Regions from separate parts of the Homo sapiens genome. Here regions 1, 2, 3, 4, 5 and 7 are each linked to region 6. The links are contacts of gene promoters, found by promoter capture Hi-C in blood cells and fetal thymus (Javierre and others, 2016). All regions are on one chromosome and are shown on one strand. Each heading gives the region's core, a stretch centred on a gene start or on the middle of the fragment in contact. The rest is flanking DNA. Distances are from core to core; before and after follow the strand shown.

Evidence for each region. Contacts are between HindIII fragments. The CHiCAGO score rates a contact against its expected background, and 5 or more counts as called.
Region 1: a fragment that was not itself captured here is called in contact with the fragment with the promoter of PUM3 in region 6 in 1 of 17 cell types (fetal thymus); the score reaches 5.5 in fetal thymus.
Region 2: a fragment that was not itself captured here is called in contact with the fragment with the promoter of PUM3 in region 6 in 2 of 17 cell types (M2 macrophages and total B cells); the score reaches 6.9 in M2 macrophages.
Region 3: a contact is called between a fragment that was not itself captured here and the fragment with the promoter of PUM3 in region 6, in 2 of 17 cell types (non-activated CD4 T cells and total CD4 T cells). The highest score is 7.3, in non-activated CD4 T cells.
Region 4: a contact is called between a fragment that was not itself captured here and the fragment with the promoter of PUM3 in region 6, in 1 of 17 cell types (activated CD4 T cells). The highest score is 5.9, in activated CD4 T cells.
Region 5: a fragment that was not itself captured here is called in contact with the fragment with the promoter of PUM3 in region 6 in 3 of 17 cell types (fetal thymus, non-activated CD4 T cells and total B cells); the score reaches 8.2 in fetal thymus.
Region 7: a contact is called between the fragment with the promoter of RCL1 here and the fragment with the promoter of PUM3 in region 6, in 1 of 17 cell types (fetal thymus). The highest score is 6.6, in fetal thymus.

The regions. Positions count from the first base shown.
Region 1 is chr9:4,747,387-4,750,681 of GRCh38, reverse strand. No RefSeq gene overlaps it. Among named protein-coding and RNA genes, the nearest start is that of AK3, 7.8 kb to the right of the region's middle. The HindIII fragment of the contact is 4,823 bases long and covers 1-3,295 here.
Region 2 is chr9:4,347,972-4,351,309 of GRCh38, reverse strand. It overlaps a transcript of GLIS3 not described here. Among named protein-coding and RNA genes, the nearest start is that of GLIS3, 50 kb to the right of the region's middle. The HindIII fragment of the contact is 1,899 bases long and covers 306-2,204 here.
Region 3 is chr9:4,598,200-4,601,608 of GRCh38, reverse strand. It overlaps SPATA6L (spermatogenesis associated 6 like), which reads left to right. Exons shown (of 12, transcript NM_001353486.2): 12 at 800-3,293. Among named protein-coding and RNA genes, the nearest start is that of PLPP6, 62 kb to the left of the region's middle. The HindIII fragment of the contact is 1,919 bases long and covers 818-2,736 here.
Region 4 is chr9:4,685,848-4,689,567 of GRCh38, reverse strand. It overlaps CDC37L1 (cell division cycle 37 like 1, HSP90 cochaperone), which reads right to left. Exons shown (of 7, transcript NM_017913.4): 3 at 962-1,055. Among named protein-coding and RNA genes, the nearest start is that of CDC37L1, 8.1 kb to the right of the region's middle. The HindIII fragment of the contact is 6,570 bases long and covers 1-3,720 here.
Region 5 is chr9:4,663,153-4,666,587 of GRCh38, reverse strand. SPATA6L (spermatogenesis associated 6 like) reads left to right here and starts at 108. Exons shown (of 12, transcript NM_001353486.2): 1 at 108-376. The coding sequence starts at 338. It overlaps PLPP6 (phospholipid phosphatase 6), which reads right to left. Exons shown (of 1, transcript NM_203453.5): 1 at 1,330-3,435. The coding sequence ends at 3,325. RefSeq lists silencers at 180-259, 270-319. The HindIII fragment of the contact is 2,038 bases long and covers 232-2,269 here.
Region 6 is chr9:2,842,797-2,846,155 of GRCh38, reverse strand. PUM3 (pumilio RNA binding family member 3) reads left to right here and starts at 2,061. Exons shown (of 18, transcript NM_014878.5): 1 at 2,061-2,111. RefSeq lists enhancers at 1,730-1,969, 1,793-2,087, 2,471-3,032. The HindIII fragment of the contact is 3,665 bases long and covers 128-3,359 here.
Region 7 is chr9:4,791,628-4,794,919 of GRCh38, reverse strand. It overlaps RCL1 (RNA terminal phosphate cyclase like 1), which reads right to left and starts at 1,976. Exons shown (of 9, transcript NM_005772.5): 1 at 1,693-1,976. The coding sequence starts at 1,828. RefSeq lists enhancers at 1,226-1,725, 1,800-1,849, 2,670-2,719 and a silencer at 1,930-2,289. The HindIII fragment of the contact is 3,785 bases long and covers 869-3,292 here.

The DNA of each region.
Region 1 (3,295 bases), core at 558-3,057, 1.9 Mb before region 6:
AAGAGGGCATCCGCAGAGGACAGCTGCCCGGCACAAGTGCCAGTCTGAGTGGAGTGAGGAAGATGTCTCCATGTAGACGGCAGTACAGTGTGGCTCAGGGTTTTGGAGTCTGCACAGAGTGAGTAGAATGCTCATAGCGATAAGCAGCCTGGCCTGTGATGTCAGAGCCCAGAAGTGGTGAGAAGGATGTCTGTGGAGGGGGTGGTCTGGTCCAGCATAGAGTATCAGAGCCCCAGCCAGATAAGAGTGTCCATATATCAGGCTGATGAGTGGTCGGTATGGAATTCTGTAACCCAAGTGGGGTGAGGAGGACATAGAATAAACTAAAATATGTGTCAATATTATTTTCTTATGGTACAGGCTTCCTCATTGTCCGTCTTTCTTAGGGCTTTCTCAGATATTCTTATTTATCTTTCCAAGTGAACGTCCTAATAAAATTGTCTTAGCTCTAAGGCGCCCTCTTCTGTTTCTTTTGCAAAGTGTTAAACAATATGACATTGTAGTATCTGAGTTCCACCTTCTCTGTTCTGTTCCTTGACTTTTGTCTAGACCTTATCTTTCTTTTTTCTCTAATATCCTTGTCTGGATAATTTGAATTCTACTCCCAGAAGTTTCTCCTCAGAGAAAGCATTTCCTATATGCATCCAGTACAATTTGAAATCACTAATTTAGCTGCTGAATAGTTATGGAATTTGGGGCAAAATTATCCTCATTTTTTAAATCTATAAATTGTAAATGAAATGTAATTTATTTCATAAGGGGTTTTTTTTGACAACTAGAAGTAATTTTCTTTTTTCTCTTTTTCCTTTTTTTTTTTTTTTTTTTGAGACAGTCTCATTCTGTCACCCAGGTTGGAGTAGAGTGGCACGATCTCAGCTCACTGCAACCTCCACCTGCCAGGTTCAAGCGATTCTCCTGCCCCAGCCTCCTGAGTAGCTGGGACTACAGGCAGGCGCCACCATGCCTGGCTAATTTTTTGTATTTTTAGTGGAGACAGGGTTTCACCATGCTGGCCAGGCTGGTCTCAAACTCCTGACCTTCTGATCTGCCCACTTCGGCCTCCCAAAGTACTGGGGTTACAGGCGTGAGCCACTGTGCCCAGCCTAGAAATAATTTTCAATCAGTTCTCAGTCCTACCTATCAGCAGAATTTGACTCATTTCATCATATTCTTCTTGAAACACATTCTTCAATTGACTTCCACGACACCATACTCACCCAATTTTCTTCTTAATTGGCCTCTCCCTCTCTTTCAGGTTTTTTCAATGTTTCTTCCATATCTTCCAACCTCAAAATGTTAGACAACCTCAGAACTCAGATTTCAGACCTCTCCTCTCTATCTAAAGTTGCTCCCTAGTGAGCTTGTACCATCTCAAAAATTTAAACATATTGACAACTCTCAAATTTATGTCTCCAGCCTGGACCTCTACCCTGTGGTCAAAATTTATACATCTGCCTCCTTCCTTATTTTCTCTGCCTGGATGTCCAACAGGTATCTCGAAGTTAACTTATTCCAAAACAACTCTAATATTTTCACCCAACCTGTTTCTCTTATAGTCTTCCCAATCTCAGCTAATGACAATTCTATTCTCCCAGTAGCTCAGGAGAAATCTCTTTTTTTCCCTCACTTTAATCCATCGAATCCACCAGGGACTCACGTTGGGTCTACATTTAAACTATATGCAAGAAGAGGGCATCTGCAGAGGAGAGCTGCCCAGCACAAGTGCCAGAGTCTGAGTGGAGTGAGGAAGATTTCTCCATGTAGACGGCAGTACAGTGTGGCTCAGGGTTTTGGAGTCTGCACAGAGTGAGTAGAATGCTCATAGTCATAAGCAGCCTGGCCTGTGATGTCAGAGCCCAGAAGTGGTGAGAAGGATGTCTTTGGAGGGCGTGGTCTGGTCCAGCATAGAGTGTCAGAGCCCCAGCCAGATAACAGCGTCCATATATCGGGCTGATGAATTGTCGGCATGGAATTCTGTAACCCAAGTGGGGTGAGGAGGACATCTGCATGGAGAAAGGGTAGGCAGTGGTGATAGAAGGTTGGGTATACACAGAGTGACTGATCATAAATGTGGATACATGAAGGACATGAGAGTCTGTTAGAGACACTAACTCAAAATCCAGAAGCAATGTGTTACTCTGTGTTAGGTAGATAAGAATAAAAGAAGACTGAATGTAGTGGTTCACACCTGTAATCCCAATATTTTAGAGGCTGAGGTGGGAGGATCCCTGGAGCCCAGGTATTTGAGACCAACCTGGCCAACATAGCAAGATCTTGTCTCTACTAAAAAAAATTAAAAATAAATAAATAAATAAAAATTAGTGGGGAGTGATGGCATGTGCCTGTAGTTCCAGCTACTTGGGAGGCTGAAGCAGTAGGATCAATTGAGCCCAGGAGGTTGAGGCTGCAGTGAGGTATGATCATGCCACTGCTCTCCAGCCTGGGTGACAGAGTAAGACTCTGTCTCTAAAAAATAAAATAAAATAAAATAAAAATTGGTGGCTTCAATATATGAGGAGAAGACAAGACTAGGATTGTAGTGAAGGATGGAAGGGAAAAAATGAAAATAAATCCTAGAATATTAGATCAGAAATGAAGGTATCAATGTAAACTCATGGCTTCAGTAATACATAGATAAACATAGAAATAAATGTAGATGTAAACGTGTGTGTAAATGAATACAAACATATTTACATATTCCTTAGCCCTGTCCTCTGAGAGGGCCTTAAAGCAGCAACACATTAATAGTAATGAGCACACTGAATGCACGGGCCTCAGTTTCTAAATTCCATATTCCACTAAAGGAAACCAGGGATTCTTGGAGAAATGGTTGATCTCAGCCATTTCAATGTGTTGCTGGGTCTAGGAAGTCCAAGATGAACCTGGACCTTCTTATGCCAGAAAGTAAAGAAGTGCACAAAGAGTAATGGGGACATGCCAAAAGGACACAGATGCTAGCTAACACGAAGGAGATTCCATTAGCCAAATCTTAAATGATTTGAACATCAAAATAAATAATAATGACAATGGCTTACAACCAATTTAATAAAATAAGAAACCATATAAATAAATGTAAGATAGTGAGTAAATTAAAAGTTTGATGAAAGATAAGGTATTTACAAAGTCTGAACTTCAACTACCCTCTTACAGAATACTTTTTTTTTTTTTAAAGACAGGGTCTCACACCGTTGCCCAGGCTCTAGTGCAGTGGTACGATCATAGCTCCCTGCAGCCTCCACCTCCTGGGCTCAAGTGATCTTCCCACCTCAGCACCCCACTCAACCCACTCCCTGAG
Region 2 (3,338 bases), core at 6-2,505, 1.5 Mb before region 6:
CCTCAGCCTCCCAGCTTATTGGGACTATAACCACACCCAGTTAATTGTTTGTTTGTTTGTTTCTTTTGAGACAGAGTCTCACTCTGTCTCCCAGGCTGGAGTGCAGTGGCCTGATCTTGGCTCACTGCAACCTCCACCTCCTGTGTTCAAGCAATTCTCCAGCTCCCTGTAAGTGTAGAGAGGCTATCCCAACCAGCCTTAAGGTCTAAGAAACAGGCCAGAATCAGAAAGAAATGGATTATTATACAGAGAAGTGAAGCCCAGGGCCCAGCACTTCAAGGCCTTGTATATAGATAGGACAAGCTTCATGGCGGTGTGACCTACACAGACACACAGGGCCCCAGGCTTAGAAGAGCCACAAATGGTTTATTGATCAAAGAGCCCTTGTTCATTTTGAACTGGGCCCCAAAATTACGTAGCTGGTTCTGGTACTAGTGGTACTAGGGAAAGTCCTGAGGAGACAGAAACTGGAAGAAAACAAAAACAAACAAAAACAAAAACAAAACAAAACAAAACAAACCCTGATGTTTTTTACCCCAAGGCATTTTGGGTAGAAGAGACATAGAGGCAGCAGAGACACATCAATCCCAACTCTTCCTTGGTCCAGAATGAAGGAGGATATTACTTGATTTGAGAGAAATACCAAAGGTGGGGTCTTTTTGTCCAATTTAACATTTTGGATTCTGGAAGAAGAGTTCAGTCTTCCTTATCCCCACCCCAAAATAGAGATAATAAAGCAGTTCTGAAAGAGACTTTAAAATAAAAATATTTTTAAAAATTTCAGAGAGATATAGTACGGCAGGATTATAAATTTACACTGTGCACAGGTGAATAGTGAAAATGCAGTTTAAAGAAATTTTCTATTACTTGATTCCATTTGTGTCAATTGTTTCTATCCATATAGAGATGGGAGGAAAAAATATAAATTTTAAGTCAAATCCAGTAAATGTGGCCCAGTGCAATAACTGAAATAGTCTCTTTAAGTTAATTTTCAGTCTTTTGATTTAAACGTGCCCAGTTCCTCACATTTCCGCCTATTCCCTCTTTGCTCTCCAAGGTGCTGGTGAATAGGTGCCTTGCGGGTATAGCAAACATGGCCATGCGGTGGTGGAGGAAGGGAGTCTCCCATCGCCACTGGGCCTTGTGATAGCTCTCGGTCTTCTCTGACCTCTGCGGTGATGGAACTCCTATGCCTGATCCCTTCTCACTATGCTGCTATCAGCTGTCTCTGAGCTGGTGTAACTTGCAATCTGACTCTCTCAGTTTGGTCAAAGTCAGTTTTGCCCCACTGCTCTTGGTCCGTCTAAGTCTCTTTCACATTCCTGAAGCCAGCTGGCCTGGGCTGCCCACCCACAGCCTCTGCAGCAGATTATCTCACTCTTGCCAGGACAGGCCCCACAGAAGATTCATCGATTTCTAGTTCAACTGGCTTCCAGATAAACTGAAGGCTAATGACCAATTCAGGACACCCTGAAGGCTTCATGACTTCATTTCTTCTTGCCACCATGAATTTAGGTTTCTTCTTCATTTCTGGTACCCGGATATTTTTCCTTTTTGCTGTCAAGCCCTGCTTAAAGTATTTTTTTTTCTGTCTTTTATTCATCATTTCTGTGTGCTTAGAGTGATGCTCTGTGTGTCCTCTTGTCTGGAAGTCCTGGAATCTTATTTTTGCTAGTAATTTGCAAGGTAAGTACTTCAGTTCCTTCCCTAAGTAAATGCAATCTAAATTAACAAAGTTTTGTTAGGTATTTTTTTCCTTTTTGGTCATCTAGCATACAGGGATTTTTTTCTGTGCAATGACCATTTCCATTCTCTTTTTCTACTCATCAATATAAATCCTCAACACCAATTAGACTCTACGAGAGGGTATTGTATGCAATGTGCATGCCAGGATACAAATAAAATAATTCCAGTTAATTATTAAGTAAATATAGGAACATTTACTATTATAAAGCATTTAGAAGAGTCAAATGCCTGGCTTTTATGGGTCATATAATCTACTTGGAGAAATATGGTTGCATAAAATATTTAAATAACATTAGTCTGCAGTTCTGCAAGTGTGCATACCAGTGCCACTGACAACACCTATCATAAACTGTTGTGGAAAGGAGAGATTGCTATCAACTGGGGTGTTCAGTGAAGCCCTCATGGCAAAGGCTTATTTTAAGTTGAAAGTTGAGGGATCAACTGATGTTTAGTAAGCTTAGATAAGGAGTAGTGTTGCATTCTCCTATTTTTATGTTGCATTCTCCTATTATTTTATTATTATTGAGTTTCATGAATGTTTTCCTCCTTCAGCTTCTTTTCTAATTAGAAATAATGTTTACTGGATGTTTGCTGAGTACAAATGTAATATATGTTTCCTATGGAAAAAATGAAAAACTATAAAGAAGAAGAAAGCACCATCCATAATTTTACTCTACAAAGCCAATAGACATAATTTTGATTTTATAATTTCCGTATTTTCTATGCACATTTATGTTGAATAAAAGTTGGAATCATATTGAGCTTATATCTTTTTAATCTGTTTTTTTTTCACTTAGGAGCATTTTCCTTTTTGAATAAGATTCCTCTAAAACATAACTTTTAATGACCGCATATTTACCATATTTGTTTAACAATACCATATTGTGAGTCACTGGGAGAAAGTCAGGTAGTTGAGTCCTCAAATTTCGTTCCCACCTTCTTTCATAATAAGATAACCCATATTTAAATGGGACTATATTATGTCCAATTAAAGGTCACATCTCCCAGCCTCCTTGGAGTAGGTGTGGCCATTGACCGAGTTCTGGCCAATGAGATATAAGTAGAATAGTTATTATCAATTTGAAGAAAAACTTCTTAAAGGGGGCTGACTCATTTGAGAGCAGCATTCTTTTGCTTTTGCCTCCTATCAGCTTCCCACTGCATGGGATGTGGAGGTGATGGCTGGAGTTCCAACAGGCACTTGGATCGTGAGATAACCTCAGAAAGCTGTTTCCCGAGGGTGCTGAACTGGCAGGAAAGAAACCTTGGTCCTCGATGATATTGTGAAGACACCATATTAGCATGGATGGCCTATTTCTGAATTTCTTTCAGGTAAGAAAGAAATATATTTCAGCTTTATTTAAATGTTCTCTTACATGCAGACAAACCTAATTCTAACACAGATACTTAGGCTGATTCTGATTTTTGCTGTTATAAGTTATGCTGTAATTAACATACTTATTCAAAGATCTCTGTGCATTTTAGAAATTTGATAATGTATTTCTAGAAGTTGAATCATAAGTTAAAAGTTTTATGAACATTTTAAATTGGTTTTTGGCATATCCTGTCTAATTTGGGAAGGGATTTTTAAT
Region 3 (3,409 bases), core at 528-3,027, 1.8 Mb before region 6:
AGATTCTTACCACAAAAAGGTCAGGGATTCTTGAGCCAAAAACAATGAGTCCCATTGTCTGACCACGTAGAGGGAGAGAATGGGTGGAAGAAATGGGTTGAAGGGGTTGGAATACATCTATTTCTGGATCTTTTGGGACTTGGTACTTTTGGTATAAACAGAGTATCCCTTGTATATTTAAAATTGGTGAATTTTACCACACAAAAACCAAACATCCAAAAAACCAAACAAAAAAAAAAACCTCCCGTAAAGAAACCCCTCAGATTATCCCTAGTTCTCTTGGAAGGCATAATTGCCGTGAAATCCCGGCCCCCAGTGTGCAGTGCCAAATTACAGAGCAAGACTCCATCAAAAAGAAAGGAAAGAAAGGAAGAAAGAAGGGAGTGAGGGAGGGAAGGAAGGAAGGGAGGAAGGAGGGAAGGGAAGGAAGGAAGGAAATTTGTTCAGTAGAATATAGTTAATTGGAACACGTTTAACAGCTCAACTGAATAACACCTATTTTGGCACATTTACTATGTAGCAATGCTAACTCTTCACTATAATAGTAAGAGGTAGATACTCTGTCATCATCCTGATATTTTACAAAGACGTCAAGTAAATTGTCCAAGGTCACACAGATGCTCACTGGGTTATTCTGTTGTGGGAATCTGGGGAAAAAGCTCAGAGACTAAGTGATCCCAAGGCATAGCTACATGCCAAGATTGGGGTAGTATGACATTATCTTTTTCTCCTTACTTGTATTGATTGTTTGCCTTTTTCTCAATACCACATGTAGAATGTGATGTTTCAAATTTTGCAGGGGAAATTAATGAAAGCTTAAGGAGAATCATGAAGAGCTCACTCACTGAGACAATTGAAGCATCCTTAAAGAAATGAACACTTTTTGTTGTCTGTGTTGAGTCACTGATGTCTAATCCCCTTTAAACCAAACCCTGTACTCAGTCTTTTGTGCCCAGGTAAGAGTTGTTGATTAAAGTGTTTGCTGTTTGGGGGCTAACATTTTCTTGTCAAGCTGGAAAATTTGTGTTTTTGCATGTTTGTTTTGAACATGAAAGAGAAAGCGCTGTAGTTGGGTGGCAGGTGCTTATCTGAACACTTCCCCTCTCTCTCTCTCTGGCTCTCTCTGGCTCTCTCTGTCTCTCTCTCTCAAATTAATTATATATGAGCTAGAGGAAGTTGCTATTCACAGGAATAACCTGATAAATCCTCCAGGAAAGACTATCAACCTGACTTTCTCTTTTCGGTAGATCCGTTTTTGTTGTTGTTTGTTTATTTCTTAGTGTTAGGCTTGATTTACGTGAAGTCCACTAAAAACCTTGGAAAAGAGAGCATTACGTCTGGGTAGTTCAGATCTTGTTTTAGATGTTGAATGTCTGTGATAAATTTGTAAGAGGAGGCTGGCTCCTCTGGAGCGTAGTTTAAACTGCTCCTTCTGTTTCCTACTCCTTCGTTCCAGCAATTCTTTGTAAATTTAGATGAGGAACAAAACCTTCCTCAAATATTTCTCCAAAAGAACTACACATTAAGTAAATAGGTTCTACAGATAGGACTGCCAATGCCAGGTTTTAAAGTTAGTTAGGAAGGTGCATCTATGAAATGCTTACACAGTGTGAGGGAGCAGGAATAGGAAGGGGCTGGGATAAAGGGAGACTAGAGGCACATTTGTCTTCATTGATACAGACCCAGAGAAGAGGGGCCTGAAAATGGAAACTTATTTCCCTCCTTCATAGTGTAAGCATAGCATTTTCCTCTACCAGCCCTACTATAGTGTGAATGTTTGTGTCCCCTCAACATTTGTATGTTGAAATCCTAACCTCTAAGGAAATGGGGCCTTTTGGGAGGTGATGAGGTTGTGAGGGTGGACCCCTCATAAATGAGATTAGTGCCCTATAAATAGGCTCAAGGGAGCTCGTTTGCCCCTTCCACTGGCGAGGAGACAGCGAGAAGGCGCCATCTCTGACCCAGGAAGAGGGCCCTCACCAGATTCTGCATCTGCCAACATTCTGATCTTGGACTTCCCAGCTTCCAGAACTGTGAGAAATGAATTCCTGTAGTTTGTAAGCTACCCAGTTTATGACATTTTGTTATAGCAGCCTGAATAGAGTAAGACACTACCCTAAAACTTGTTCAGTTTTTAGAAGATTCAGTGAGAGCCAAGTTTTCTTTTCTCACTGTAATCATAGGGATTGGTTCATTAGGTAAATTAAGAAAATGAAATTAAAAATTAAAACAGAAAAGGAACTCCAAAAACAAAAACAACAAAACAAAATTCATTTATCCTCTTCTTAGAATTTCAGCCAAATAAAGGTATATCCAAGTTGAACCTCCCAATCTAAAAATCTGAAATCTGAAATGCTCCAAAATCCAAAACTTTTTGAGCACCAATATAACACCATAAGTGAAAAATTCCACATCTGACTGCATGTGGCAGGGTGCAGTCAAATGCATTCGAAACTTTGTTTCATGCTCCAAATTATTTAAAATCATGTATAAAATTACCTTCAGGCTACCTGTATAAAGTGTATATAAAACGTAAATGAATTTCGTGTTTAGACTTGGGTCCTATCCCCTATCCTGAAGATACTTCATTGTGTTTATGTAAATATTCCAAAATACAAAAACAAAAACCAAAACCCAAGTTTAAAATACTTCTGGTCAGTCCCAAGCACTGAAGATAAGGGAGACTCAACCTGTATCACAACCAGCATTCCACCTTGGCAAGGCCAACAGCAAGCTTAAATTACATATGCTAATATGTTCTCAGTCTCTCTGAAACTATGGTTGTCAATTTGTTGTTTTGATGTTACCTCTAAGTAGTCATCAAAAGTAAGAAAATATTGTGTTACATTAAGGTTACGCTATAAGTCTCAGGAGAGGGCTGCTTACGTAAGCAGCTAAAGGAAAGCAGCACTAATGAATTGGTATCCCATTTCAGTTATTGTTAAAATATACACCATGACATTCAATATTCAGTGTTTTTTGAAATGGTTTAAGCATAACTCTTTAATAAGATCTTAAATGCCCATTCTTATTTAAAGTCATTTTTGGTTTTCACACTAAATTACGCTTTTTTTCCCTTTACTTTTGCATCTATTAACTCTATTCCTTAAATTATTATTATTTTTACTTTTGTTTCTCAAGGAGTTATCTCAATTTTGAGGAATCATGCTGGGGCAAGGATTGCAGTTGAAGTATTTTGCTTTTGGAGTGTATAATAGTATGAATAATTTTGTGATGTTTTGGGGTTTGGATTACTTTGGGAAGATCTGTGTCATTAAACATCATAAAAAGAATTCCCATCTGTCTTGCTTCAGTTTATAATTCCTTTCTTGATTTTTATGGTTGCAGATCTGTCAAAGCCTGGAGCATATTTTATGGGCATGTTTCATGGGGTCTTGGTTTGCAGAGG
Region 4 (3,720 bases), core at 488-2,987, 1.8 Mb before region 6:
AATGAAAAGTATGAGCAAAGTGAATATTTTACGAATAAATTACATAAAAGGAAGGGAAAAAATTTAAAGTAATATTTATTATATTGACATAACTGAAGCATAAACGAAATTCAAAAAACGTTGGGTAAATAAACACCAACAGGAAAAAGATTTCAAAATGCCATGTAAAAAGTTCATGAACATATTACAAATAAAAACCATGTTTACTAAATTAACATACTACTTGGAATTAAAAAAAAAAAAAGTTTTAAACCTTAACTCCTAACACTTCCCAGCAGCATTTTCATGCCAGCGGTATCATGCTGCCTATAATTCTCAGAACACACCATGCTGTTTCCTAACTGCCCGTCTCATGCTGTTGCTGTTGGCTTGCCTCCCTTATACATGAAAAACTCCTATCTGTTCCTTGAAATCAAGCTCAGATGCTGGCTCCTCTGGGAAGCCTTCACTTGTATCAACCCCCCTCTTACCCTTTTTCCCCAATAGAAAAAACCTATTTTTCAGTTCTTTATATATACATTTCTATTACTATATTTATCTGAGTAACAGTTCAAGGATCTGCCTGAATTATAAAGCATCATATCCAAAACCTGAAAAAAAATGAATAATCTTTAAAACATAAGATAATCAGATTCCAAGGAAGCAAAGAGGAAAAAGAAAAAAGCAAAGACTACTTAGGAAATGGAAAGAGGCTATGGAATACATAAAGTTGTCTTAAAGGTAGTACACTATATAATAATACTTTTGCTTCTCTTTACCATTTGGTTTGCTCTGTCAATTAATTTTATTTATAACCAAAAAAAAAAAAAATTCTAAAACAAGATCTATACAGCTGTGCCAGAAGCTACAAAATTGGAGTTTGCCACTTTTCTTTTTGGCTCTCTTTTTATAAATCCATTTTTTGCACATGTACATATGATACCAAACATTACAAAGAAGGAAATCCAAGTAGTAGACTTACCAAAATGTCTGATTTTTTGCTCATATTTTTGCATAAATGATTCTGATTTATCTTCATCTTCTGTGTCTTTTCTTTTATCTTGATTAATAAAACTCTAAGAAAAAATTTTAGAAATTTAAATCAGATTTTAAATTCTAATTGAATCTTCTTTCTCAGATACTGAATATCTAGCAATTCTTCCTATAGACAATATATGTGGTATAGTATCATACTGATATTACATGATTAAATTCATCTGGTAAACTATTTTTAAAAATTAAAATTTTCTTGTATGGGAGTCTTATTAATTTTGTTTAAAATGATGTATGAGGCCGGGTGTGGTGGCTCACGCCTGTAATCCCAGCACTTTGGGAGGCCGAGGCGGGTGGATCACGAGGTCAGGAGTTCAAGACCAGCCTGGCCAACATAGTGAAACCCCGTCTCTACTAAAAATACAAAAAATAGCTGGGCATGGTGGTGGATGCCTGTAATCCCGGCTACTCGGGAGGCTGAGGCAGGAGAATCTTGCGTGAACCCAGGAGGCAGAGGTTGTAGTGAGCTGAGATCATGCCACTGCACTCCAGCCCAGGCGACAGAACAAGACTCCATCTCACAAAAAAATACATACGATATATGTGTGGATATAGGTTCATCTTAGAAATCATACAGAAAAACAACTGAATTAACCTTTTTGGTAAGCTGAATTTCCCAATTAAAAGCAGGTATAGAAACATCCTTTATATTTTATATGCATAGTTTACTTGTGCATTATTTAATTCCTATAAATATTTGCAACTCTTGCCTAATCTTTCGAGTTCTTGCTGGAAATAAACTCAGAAATTCAAAGCACATAGAGAATAAATGATATTTACCGTAAATTCTTTATTAAGACATAAACAAGAAATAGACTGTTGTTGTTGCGTGTCTTTTTTTTTTTTTTTTTTTTTTTGAGATGGGGTCTTGCTCTGTCACCCAGGCTGGAGTACAGTGGCACAATCATAGCTCACTGCAGCCTCAACCTCTTGGGGTCAAGTGATCCTCCCACCTTAGCCTCCAGAGTAGCTGGGACTACAGGTGTGAGCCACCATACCCAGCTAATTTTTAAATTTTTTGTAGAGACGTGGTCTTGCTATGTTGCCCAGGCTGGTCTTGAACTCGTGGGTTCAAGCAATCCCTTCACCTTGGCCTTCCAACGTGCTGGGATTATAGGCATGAGCCACTGTGCCTGGCCCTTTGTTGCATTTCTAATAAACTTCTTAGAAGAGACCAAACAGTTTGATTTTTAAAGTCAAGTACAAATTTCTATTAAGGAAGTACTTATTTTCAGTTAAATAAGTCATAAAATATACCAAGAATAAAGTTTGTATCTAGCTAGAAAAACTGGCAGAAGTTTCTTAGAACATTCTGTGATCATATTTATACCCCGTTATCATCACTGCCAAAAATAAAAATTGCAAACTAGATCACTGCCAGTTTATAATCAGGAAGCACTCAAAAGTTTACATATTTCAAAATAAAAGATTTTTTCTTCATGCAGTCTGACATCTAGACCAGCACTGTCCAATAGAAATACAATCCAAGTCACAAATGTAATTTAAAGTTTTCTATTAGCCACGTTAAAAAGCAAAAAGAAACAGATGACATTAATAAATTATTTTATTTATCTTAACATATCCAGCCTATTATCATTTCAACATGTAAGCAATACAAAACAATTATTAATATTTTACTTTTTTTGGCACTACATCATTGGAATCTGGTGTGTATTTTACACTTACAGCACATCTCAATTCGGACTAGCCACATTTCAAGCACTCAATAGCACATGTGGCTAGTGGCTATCAAGTTGGATAGTGCAGATCTAGACCAGTCCTCTCAAGTCTCAAGCTCCCAGACAAAACCAGTGTAGGATTTTGAGCAAATGACTGGAACATAAAGATAGTCCTAATTAATTTGTGAGATAAATGTAGGCTGTCTTAGAACCTTAGAACCTAAGTTTAAAGAAATAATTAAAAGCAGAGACAAAATGAAAATATTTTCTTTGTGACCACTGTGTTAAAGAAGAGACATTAACTTTACAAAACAAGAAATATTACTTTGAACATTCCTTCTGGAAGAAAAAAAATTATTTTCAATAGTTTTGGGATATAAATGCAGAACAGAAAATAACACAAGATGCACCCCTTAAAACAATATATACAGATATAGCAAATGACTCAGATAAAGAATGATCCCATTGTGGAGGGGGAGAAAAAGTATATATAAATTAGTACAGGCACAGAGAAAGTCGAGAAAGATATGACTCACTGTTAAAGTACTGATAGGGCTAGTGGCGATGTACACTTATCTGTGTGTGTTACTGACTGCTGTAGCAGAACTAGAGCTGGTCCAGGGAAAGGCAATTAAAAAAGTTCATGAGAGTGGGTGAAAGCAGATGCCAAGAGGACAATTAAGAAGTTTGAGATGTGTTTCACTGTTGCCCAGGCTGGAGTGTAGTGGCACGATCTCGGTTCACTGCAACCTCTACCTCCTGGGTTCAAGTAATCCTCAAGCCTCAGCCTCCGAAGTAGCTGGGACTAAGGCAATACAGGCACATGCCATCATACTCAGCTAATTTTCGTATTTTTTATAGAGACAGGGTTTCATCATGTCAACCAAACTGGTTTTGAACTCCTGGACTTAAGTGATCTGCCTGCCTTGGCCTCCCAAAGCGCTGGGATTACAGGTGTGGACAACTAAGCCTGGCCTATTTTTCAATAAATATCATTTTATTCCACATT
Region 5 (3,435 bases), core at 1-2,500, 1.8 Mb before region 6:
TCCGGCTGGGGGCACTGCGTGGGCAACAGCGACCGTGAGGGCGCGCGTCTGCGCTGGGGCCTCGCGCGCGTTCCACGATGAAGACTGCGCGTTTGAGTGTCCCTGGCAACGCCACGCTTCCGCCTTCTGGAAGCCTGCACTCCAGCTTCGAGTGTGAGAGACCCGTCCCGGTGGGAGGGACCTGGGCTGGGGGGGACGGTAGGGGAACAAGGGCGTGGGACTGGGGAAGCTTCTGGGAACATTTGCTCTAGGTATTCAGCTAAACTAAGAAAAATTGGTCCAAGGCTCGGCACAAAAGGATCTTCTCATTCCAGTCCTTTCGCCCACGCAGGGAACGATGCCTCTGGAGGTGGTGGTGGAGCTGCAGATCCGGGCGGTAAGAGATCGATGAACTCCCCCTCCTTAACCTCAAGTCGGACTCTAAATAGTCTCAGGTGGTTTTCAACAACCCTCCCCCACATCCCCCACTTACCACAAACACATCATTATCTTCTGGGACAGATCGCACCTTTGTCTTTTTCTCCATATTGGTTTTCCCTGACTTCCTAACCTTTAATTCAGCTCCACCTGTTCCCACTTTTTTTTTTTTCTGTTCTAAAGCTAACATGTTTCTTATCTTTATCATGAATTTTTAATTTCTTTTCAAACAACCCTGCATTAAGTCCAGGTAGAATTTATTTTCTTCTCCTGGATAAAGATTTGTGAAAGGATTTTCAACTTCTTTAAATAACCAGGGAATAATTTTAAAAAGCTCCATCACTTCCTGATTATTTGCCAACTCTATGAACCAATCAGATATTTTCTATGATATTTCCCCTTAGTGATAGCTCTGGCTTGCTAATTCCAAAAGGGAAATCAATCAATCACTATTTCGTAATTACCAAATCCTTCCTAAGTGAAGTGCTGTGGCAGAGTGACTCCATGGTTTCTACTTGGGGGTCTGTCACTCCCTCTTATTTCAGTTTCCATTTTCCAATCCTTCCATGTAGTTAGTAACAGAATATCATGCCGCTTTTCCTCTAGGGGCTTTTCTACTGGCTATGATTACAAGCACAGTGCTAACAGGAAATTGTCATGGAATCTGGTTGTCTTCCATACAATTGGCAAATGGTGTGGTTTCATCATACATGTGGGTGTGAAAGGTGATCAACATTTCCTGGATTTGTCCCACTTTGCTGACAGCAAATAGGGCTAGACCTTATTAGTAGTGCTATACCAGTTTTAAGCTCTAAAAATTGTGCAGGAAGAAGGAACTCTTGAGAAGCTAAGTGATAAATCTGTCTCCCTCCTCATCAAGGCAAAAATTAAGCAAGTTTTCATCTCACTTCATTCACCATTATTTGTTAATTTTATTTTGATTTTTAAAAGGCATTATTCAGTGTACAATTAACAAAGAAATCAGTTTTCTACTCTACTGTACTTAGGATGCTTCAAAAACATCAGGTGAAATGATCTATGCTTTAAGAGCCAGAAAACTCAGGCCTCAGCAACTAAAACAGAGAATTCCAAAATTGTAATTACAAATCAGATGGTAAGCCTAATTTCATGCCCCTAATATTCAGATTTGTGGACACTGCAAGAGGAAATATCATTTGCTTCCAAATATCTGGCTTGAATATTGCTGCAGTTAAAGGATCTCGCTAAGGTTAAACAACAAACCCAAACCACTTAGAGCTTCACAGTTTAGCTGCTTTAGCAAGTGAAGAGGTAGTCGGTATTCAGGATGCTGTGGGAATGCAAATGATTTGATTTTGAGGCATGGCTGTTCCTTTTTCACTATGCCCCTCACTCTGAACAAGCTCATGCTTTCACTCAATCAAAACCTACTTATCACAGCCGTTCTCCAGGTTCCGAACCTCCGTATGGCAGATCAAAGTCCATAATCATTTCTATTTATAAATGCCAAAATAGTCATTAAGATTATCTGAGGACATCACTTCCATAGGTAATTTAAAGGATTTCTTTTCAGGTAGAGCAGCACTTAAAGCACATACCTTCTCCAGTCTTTCTGGGTCAAAGAATAATGAGCAGAGTCCACCCTGCGTTTGGTGGTCTTTGGTCTTATGATTTGGGGAGGCACCATGGATGAACAGCTTTAAATGTAAAGGTCAATGTAAACAGAAATTTTGGAGTTTTATCTTGTGCCTGGTATAGCAGCAGACTCCCATGATGAATTTCAAGTTAAATACTGTTACCTAAAATGTGCTGTACCTCAGAAAACGGAATTCCATGTGAAAAACTGTAGCATACAGGTATATACGAGAAAGCTTATGTTCTTGCATTGAGAAGACGTTCCTTTTCCCCACTTTATTACCCTGAAAGAGGAGCATTATTCTTTATTCAGTGGAGATGACTGGCAGCAGGGCCCCATCTCCTGTCATACTGGTCACTGGCATAATATGTGGTCAGCCTATTCCCAAACTTTCAGTTCCTCTAACTTTCCCCAGCAACTTAGTTTCTCTGCCCTCTCTCATGCCATGTTACGTTGTAAACAAAAATAAGCATGGGGCCATGTCCCATTCTTCCTCTTCTATGAGCATCTTAGATATGCCTACCTTTTAAGTGATTCCTCTTTAAGCAAGTTGGCTTTTTCTCTGAATGCTAAAAGACAGTAAGGGAGTAGTGGGAAATGCATAAAGATCTTTTGAGGGATGGAGGGAGAGGAGAGAAAGACAAGTATTATAATCTCTTTTCCCACTACCCGATCCACAAATATGGATAGAGATAATAAATTATAGAGATAATAAAGTAAAAAAGCTTACCAAGAAAATCAGGATTAAGAAGAAATCTCCCAACTGTGGCAACAGATCTTCAGGGAATAAACTAGAAAAACCTATGTCTTGGACTTTAAAAATACTGTTTAAAATCTACCTCAGGAAAAGGACTAGGATTAGTACATGACCTGTCTGCATGTATATTTACAGAATGAACATCATGTTTCTTTCTCGAAGTTCAGTTTACAAGTGGTATGTTGATTTAGGGATTATCACAAAACACAAATCTTACTGATACCAACTTTTAACAGCAACAGTATAACCACCTCAGCTTGTTTTCTTTGCAGTTGTCCTGGAAACATAAACAGTTGTTGAATAAATATACAATAGAGGATTTTTTGGGTTTTTTTGCTTTCCCTAATATGGCTGTGTTCAGTAATGGCCAGTGTGTGCTCCAGCCTAGCAGCACATCAAGATCATGGGACACCTGAAATCCCAAAGGAAGCCTGAAATGCCTAAGAGGGACAAGCGGGATGGCTGCTGGTTTAGGTTGACATCATCGAATGTGGAAACCTTCAGACTTCCTGGTGCCATAATCAATGAGATGGTGTCATCGTTGACTCCACAGTAAAAAGAGGACCGGAGCATTATGGGGTGAGAGCCAGCAATAGTCCACGATGCTGTACTGCATGTAGCCCAGAAAAAAGCCAAAAGCTACGTC
Region 6 (3,359 bases), core at 812-3,311:
ATTGTGTATCACGCAAGAAGAGCATCTTAGGCTTGTAGGAGTACACCTAGTGGTCTACATTTAGATCATTAGATATTTGAAGAATTAATGGGTTTGCTTGACAAAAAAAAAAATTACAGGATAAGCTTTTTTTGTGCTGTTCTGCAAAACCACACGATGCTTTCAATTCACTCCAAAAAAAAAAAAAAAATCCAAATCAATCCACTTTCACAGAAGACTTGATAAAAAAGTTTTTAATAATAATCAAGGGCTTTGATATGTGATAACATTTTTTTTTTCCTCCCTGGTGAAAAGGCAAATGAATAGCAGGGTTTTGGTGCAGATGCTTAAGGCAACTGCATGGACCTATCTTCAAGGATATGGGGTGCTGCTGTCTGTCGAGTTGAAAACACAAACGTATCCCTTCCCAGGGTTGTGTGATAGGGTGTATTTTGCGATTTTTCTTTCTTTTTGGCCAGCATTTACTTGTCAGGTGTTTCAAGGTGTCTAATATCCCCACTACTATGCTATTTGCCCAAAAGGCACAGCTGATGGGCCTCCTGCAATTCCTGTTCCATATTCTCTTCTCTTAGCATTTACTGAATTATTGAAAGCAGTACGGAGGCAGCCACGTTGAGTTTAGAGTCAGGCTCACTGGACCAAAGCTACTATGTTTTGCCTTTCTCTGTAAAATGAGAAAAGACCTATTTAAAACGTTCTTATGAGATTTAAATGAGCTGAAATGTAAACTAGTAACAGTTAAGGTAGACGACAAGAACTTATCAAGTATCTATGTGCTGCATAGTGAGATAAGTGCCTGGAAAGTAATGATGGCCCCTGTCATCAAGAAGCATACAGTCTACTAAATTACCAGTTTCAACTCTAACTCCTTAGTGGCCAGAAAACGGAGTAAGTTGGAAGACAGTAAAATCTGAAGTCTGGCACCAGGGATCAAGTGCCAGTTCCTCAACTTTACAGATGCAGTGGGTTGAATAGTCTCCAAAAGATATGTCTATGTCCTAACTCCCAGGACATGTGAAAGTGACCTTATTTGGGAAAAGGGCCTTTGCAGATGTGATTAAGGACCTCCAGATGAGATGATCTTGGATTATCCCCGTGGACTCTAAATTCAATGTTCAGTGTCCTAAAAACACACAGAGAAGTGGCACAGGCACAGGAGAAGGCCATTAGAAGACAGGCCGAGATTGGAGTCATGCAACAAGAGGCCACGGACCGCCTGGAACCGTTAGAAGCTGAAGAAGCAAAGCATTCTCCCCTAGAGCCTTCAAAAGGTGCAGGGCTCTGCCAACAGCTTGATTTTGGAATTCTTGCCTCTAGAACAGTTAAAGAATAAAATTCTGTTGCTTGACACGAGCAAGTTTGTGGTGTCAGTTTCTTCATCTGGAAAATGGGGCATATATCCTAACCACAATCTTATTTCCTGAAGTATAAAATGGAATAACAGCAGTTTCCAGGCACGAGCAGACACTAAAAATGGCAAACATTTATTGAGAGCGTTCCATGCTAAGCGCTTTGCACGTATCACTTAATTATTTCTATTTTATTGATCAGGAAGCCAAAGCTCATAAAAACTGTAATTTTCCCAGAGCCACACAGCTAGCAAGTGAAAAAAACGGGATTACAATTCAAATCGACTCACAAGATACCCCTTTTATCCTCCACGCTGGACTGCTGAGGAAGTATGCAAATTAACACACTTTAGAAACTTTAGCTACTTCAATATTTGTTCAGGCTACGGGATGCAGGCCTCTTATTAACCGCGCCAGCCAGGTCTGTCCTTCAGCAGCCTGTTCTGCCTCGCAAGAGCTCTCCCTCTCTTTCCAGCACGGAAGCCACAGGGTTAATGACGTCATTTCCCGTGGCCGTTGTCGCGTCCTCCGCCCGACGGATTCTTGCAAGGGCCAAAATCCTCGCGCCTCAAGAGGAGGCATAACAGCAGCGGACCAATAGAAATTCCGAATTTTTGTATTCTCTGGGAAGCTCCACCTCTTAGTCCCTGATCCGCCGCGGAAGATGAAAAAAAGCGGCCCGGGGGCGGAGCAAGGCAAGGAAGCGGAAGCGGAGAGGCGGTCGGGATCCGCTGCGCGAGCTGTCTCGGTCCCACGTGTGCGGTGAGTGTGGCAGGCTCAGCGGTCGCTCTTGGGAGGGGTTCGCACCCTGCCGGGCGCTGGAAGTCGGGAAGGTCTCTCGGGGCTGTTGTCCACTGGGCAGTCTCCTCTGGCCTCTTTCTGGGCTAGGAGTTTGGGACTGACTGGAGCCTGGCAAGAAGGGCGGGACTGGCCGGGCGCGGTGGCTCACGCCTGTAATCCCAGCACTTTGGGAGGCCGAGGCGGGCGGATCACAAGGTCAGGAGATCGAGACCATCCTGGCTAACACGGTGAAACCCCGTCTCTACTAAAACTACAAAAAATTAGCCGGGCATGGTGGCGGGCGCCTGTGGTCCCAGCTACTTGGGAGGCTGAGGCAGGAGAATGGCGTGAACCCGGGAGGCGGAGCTTGCAGTGAGCCAAGATCGTGCCACTACACTCCAGCCTGGGAGACAGAGCAAGACTCCGTCTCAAAAAAAAAAAAAAAAAAAAAAAGAAGGGCGGGACTCCGACCTCTCTCCCACCACGTTGCCCTGCGTGCCGGGTTAGAGTGGACTAGCTTCACTCCGGAATCCCAGCCCGTGCTCGGCCTGATCAGCCTGTCTGTGCTACTTCACAAACCCCAACTCCAGTGCTAGGCGGTTTGCCTGAATGTACGCAGATTCTAAGTGCTGGGAGGAAACGAACTGGATGCTGAGTTGGCAGATAGTGGAGTCTGAAGAAGTGATCTTTAAACGGAGATTTGGAAGCTCAGGGAGTACTTCAAGCAGAGGCGATAATGGGCTAAGTTCCTGAGATGGGAGCTAGGAAGGAGTATAGTTAGAGTACAAGATAAAGTTAGCCGGATAGAGTGGAACTAGGTTCTGTAGGGCCTTGAAGGTCATGATGGGGAATTTTTTTTTCTGTACAATAGGAAAACATTTCCGTTCCTATTACCATGTGTAGAAAACATTGAAGACTTGTAAGCAAGTGAGAATCATGAATAGGCCCTGGTTCTCTTTAGAAAATGTATTACATTTGGAAGCTCAAGAGATTGTATTGGTAATAGTTTGCATTAGGGTGGTGACGTAAGGGACATTTAAGAGAACTAACTTATGGTTCAGCGTGGCAGAGTAGAGAGGAAAATGTCAAGGGTAACTCAGATTTCTTACTTGAGCAGTAAAGTAGATGATGTGCCATTGGCTGAGATGGAGGACGATAGGGCAGGGAAAAATAGTATATTGTTGTTTGTGGGGCAAACAACAATAACATAAAGAACAACATAGAGAATTA
Region 7 (3,292 bases), core at 727-3,226, 1.9 Mb before region 6:
CAGTTCTACCTCCCTCAGGTATCAGCGTCTGACACCCTTTCAAGAAAGTGCCAAGTGGCCAAGCCCTGTTCTTGGAAGAAACGGGAGCTCATATGTGTGAGATGCTTTGAAGAGATGCTCACATACAGTGGAGGGGGAGAAGGAGAAGCATACTTTGGAACATTAAATATTAAATTGGAGGCCACCTGTCAATAGAAAAACTCTAAATAGAACTAGATTCATTTTAGAGAACCCAGGTTTCCAGGCTATACTTCCATTTCTCTGGAAAAAAAAAAAAAAGTTATGCCTACTTTTATACAAAGTAGAAGTCCATCTTCTTACCATATCCAGCTAGTGGCAAGTTCTCTGAGCTAACCTGAGGGTAAAGTGGATGGAGAGCTGGCTGAGAATGCCACACAGCAATCAAGCAAACACTTTGCCCAAGGGTCAAACTAAGTGGAACACTTGTTGACGGAAAAGTCGTGGCATAAACCATTTGTGGTCTCTCCCTAACTTTCTCAGTGTTTTTGAGCAGTAGAGAGAGGACAGGAACCACCAACACAAGTTTTTCCTACCATCACTAGGTTTCTCACCACTGTACCTGGGATATTCTGCTTCTTTCCTTCCTAACCTATCTCCGTCAATAGCATGGCATCTTCTGCCCTTTATGTGCAGCCAATCACCACCCAAGAGAGGCAGAGATCTAACTATCCAAAAAATGCATTCAGACAGATAAAACAAGAGCCAGTGCAAAATGAAACACATCAGCGCCGCTCAGGAAGCTTCCAGGACCAACCACAAACACTCTTTTTCAATTTACAGACAGGTTTTTTCCTTTTTCACCTGACTACTGACTCGCCCAACTTGGGATAACCACCAGTCAGAAGCTTTTAAATGCATGTATCTCATGCCAGGGGGCCAGGTGTAAACCAAGGCCAGTTGAAAACCGGCGCCATTTAATGAGATGTGGGTTTAAATGGGCCTATTTCTTTTTAACCTACCATTGCAGAGCAAGAAGTGAGCTTGGAAGCCTGCAGTTTAGCGATTGTCACCGACCCCTTTTCTAAAGTCAAGGCAATTAGGCCCATGACTGTTAAAAGTCTATCTCAAAGCTCCTGTCCTGCGCACATCAATCACAGTCACGGCTGAAAACAAACACAGAATTTTAAAAATTTCTTTATCCACACCCAAGGACAAGTGTGAGGGCAGCCGAGAAATCATGGCGACAGGAACAGCCGGTGTCCAAGGGGGCAGCTGCTTCTGAGAACTGCTTTGAGACAGGGCAGAGAACCAACCCAAGGTACTTTTCTCTCCCAATGTCTCTCCCCCGGCTCATTCACCATATTTCGGTCCAACAAACTGTTTTTCTCCTTTGAGAGGTTTATGGCGAGGGCAAGAGGGGCCGAAGGGACGCGAAGGGGCGACGCCAGGGATTTGTTGCTACACGTAAAGCTGGAAAACGTGCAGCTGTTTACTACCAGCGCCCCGGAGACGCCGAGCGCAGCTTGCAGCTGAGCGCTCCCCTCGGGCCCCGACCCCGCCTCCCCCACTGTGCCTGCCCCTCCGGCTTTGGAGGCGACGCGCCACCTGCCCTCCCCGACGCGCTCGCCGGACGCCGAGCCGCCCAACCAACACCGCGCGGGCCCCCACGGCATCAGCTCGGTCTCCCCTCAGCCCCCGCGCCCACGCCGCGCGCCGCCCACACCAAGTTACCTCGGAGGCCCGGGTTGTCGTCTCTGGCCCGAATCTTTCGGATTTTGACGGGGCGCCCGCTCAGGGTAGACAGGACCAGACGTTGGCGCAAGAAGTTGCACCCTGCGTAGCTGAGGGAGTGCGCCTGAGTCGCCATGTGCGCGCTCTCCGAAGAGACGTGAGCAGCCCGAGAGCGGCGACTTCGGACAGACGCGGGACTCGTGACTCCGATGGTGGTGGTGGCGGCGACACCGACGGCGGCGGCTCGGGCTGCCTCCAGCAGCCCAGACGCGTCCACGTGGTTTGGAACAGGAAGACGGAGAGACTAGACACCGGGTCAGAGGGGAGCGGGGCGGAGCCAGTGGCCACCTCCCCGCCTCCCCGCCCGACCGGGGCGGCCCCCGCTTCGGGCCACGCCGCTATTGGCCCGCGCCGGATCAGGGCGGTGCCCGCGCCGCGCCTCCATTGGCTTCCGCTGAAGCTGGGCGGTGCCCAAGCCGCGCTGCCATTGGTCCGTAGTGGAGCTGGGCGGTGCCCGGGCCCTGGCAACAGCGCGCGGCTGGAGGGAACGCGGGAGGATGGCCAGGGAACCCCGGCGCGGGAGTTGCCAGTCGGGGCAGTCTCCTCTGTGTACCTCCTGGCGTGGTAGCAAGGGGAGATGGCGGACTGAGATTGATGCCTACGACGTGCCGGATTCTTAGCATTACTACTTACGGCAACTACTGGGGTGAAGATGCTATTATCTACCCCTCCTCTTTCTTACTAAGAGAGACAACAAGGGTTGGTGCACTCACCCTATCGCAGGGATGCCGCTCAGCGCACTGCCGGCGCAGTCCCGCAGCTCCATGCTGTAACCCTGCAAGGTAGAGCCATCCTGTCCTACTCATGGATAAAGGCTCGAGGAATATTGCAAAGCTGACAGTGGCAGCCTATACTGAGACCCGAATCCTCCCACAGCAGGCCGTTGCTTATTTTATTGAGACACCTCTTTGCCCCTTTCTCACGGGTCCCTTCGTTTATCGTCATTGCGTTTCATGGCAATTCAGGCCCTCCTACCTCGCATGCTTCAAGATAGATAGTTGTAATAACTTCACACACACACACGCGCGCAATGCTTTTTCCCTCTTTCCCGTCCTCCTCCAATCCTGCACAAGAAAATCTTCCCAAACGTTGGATTATTTCACTTCTCTACTCAAAAACCTTCCAAAATGTACAGTTAACTAACAAATGACTACACAAGTAGAAGTCCGATATCATAGTAATGTGGGTTTGTAGCCATTCCTGGACAACACTCACCAAACCATGAGTCCCAGAATGCACGGGGGTTCGCGGGGGGAAGGGGGGCGGGGTATGATAGTGTCTGAAAGCGGTGGGAGTTTAAGATTAAGGGATGTAGCTAGCCTTATGTAGACAACAGTGTGTTATAAAGTGGAGTGGAGTGGCATGCTCATGACTCACTGCAGCCTCAACTTCCCGAGTTCTAGTAATCCTCCAACCTCAGCCTCCCCATTAGCTGGAACTACAGGTGTGCACCACCATGCTCAGCTAATTTTTGTATTTTGTATAGACATGGGTTTTTGCCATGTTACCCAGGCTGGTCTCAAACTTCTAACCTCAAGCG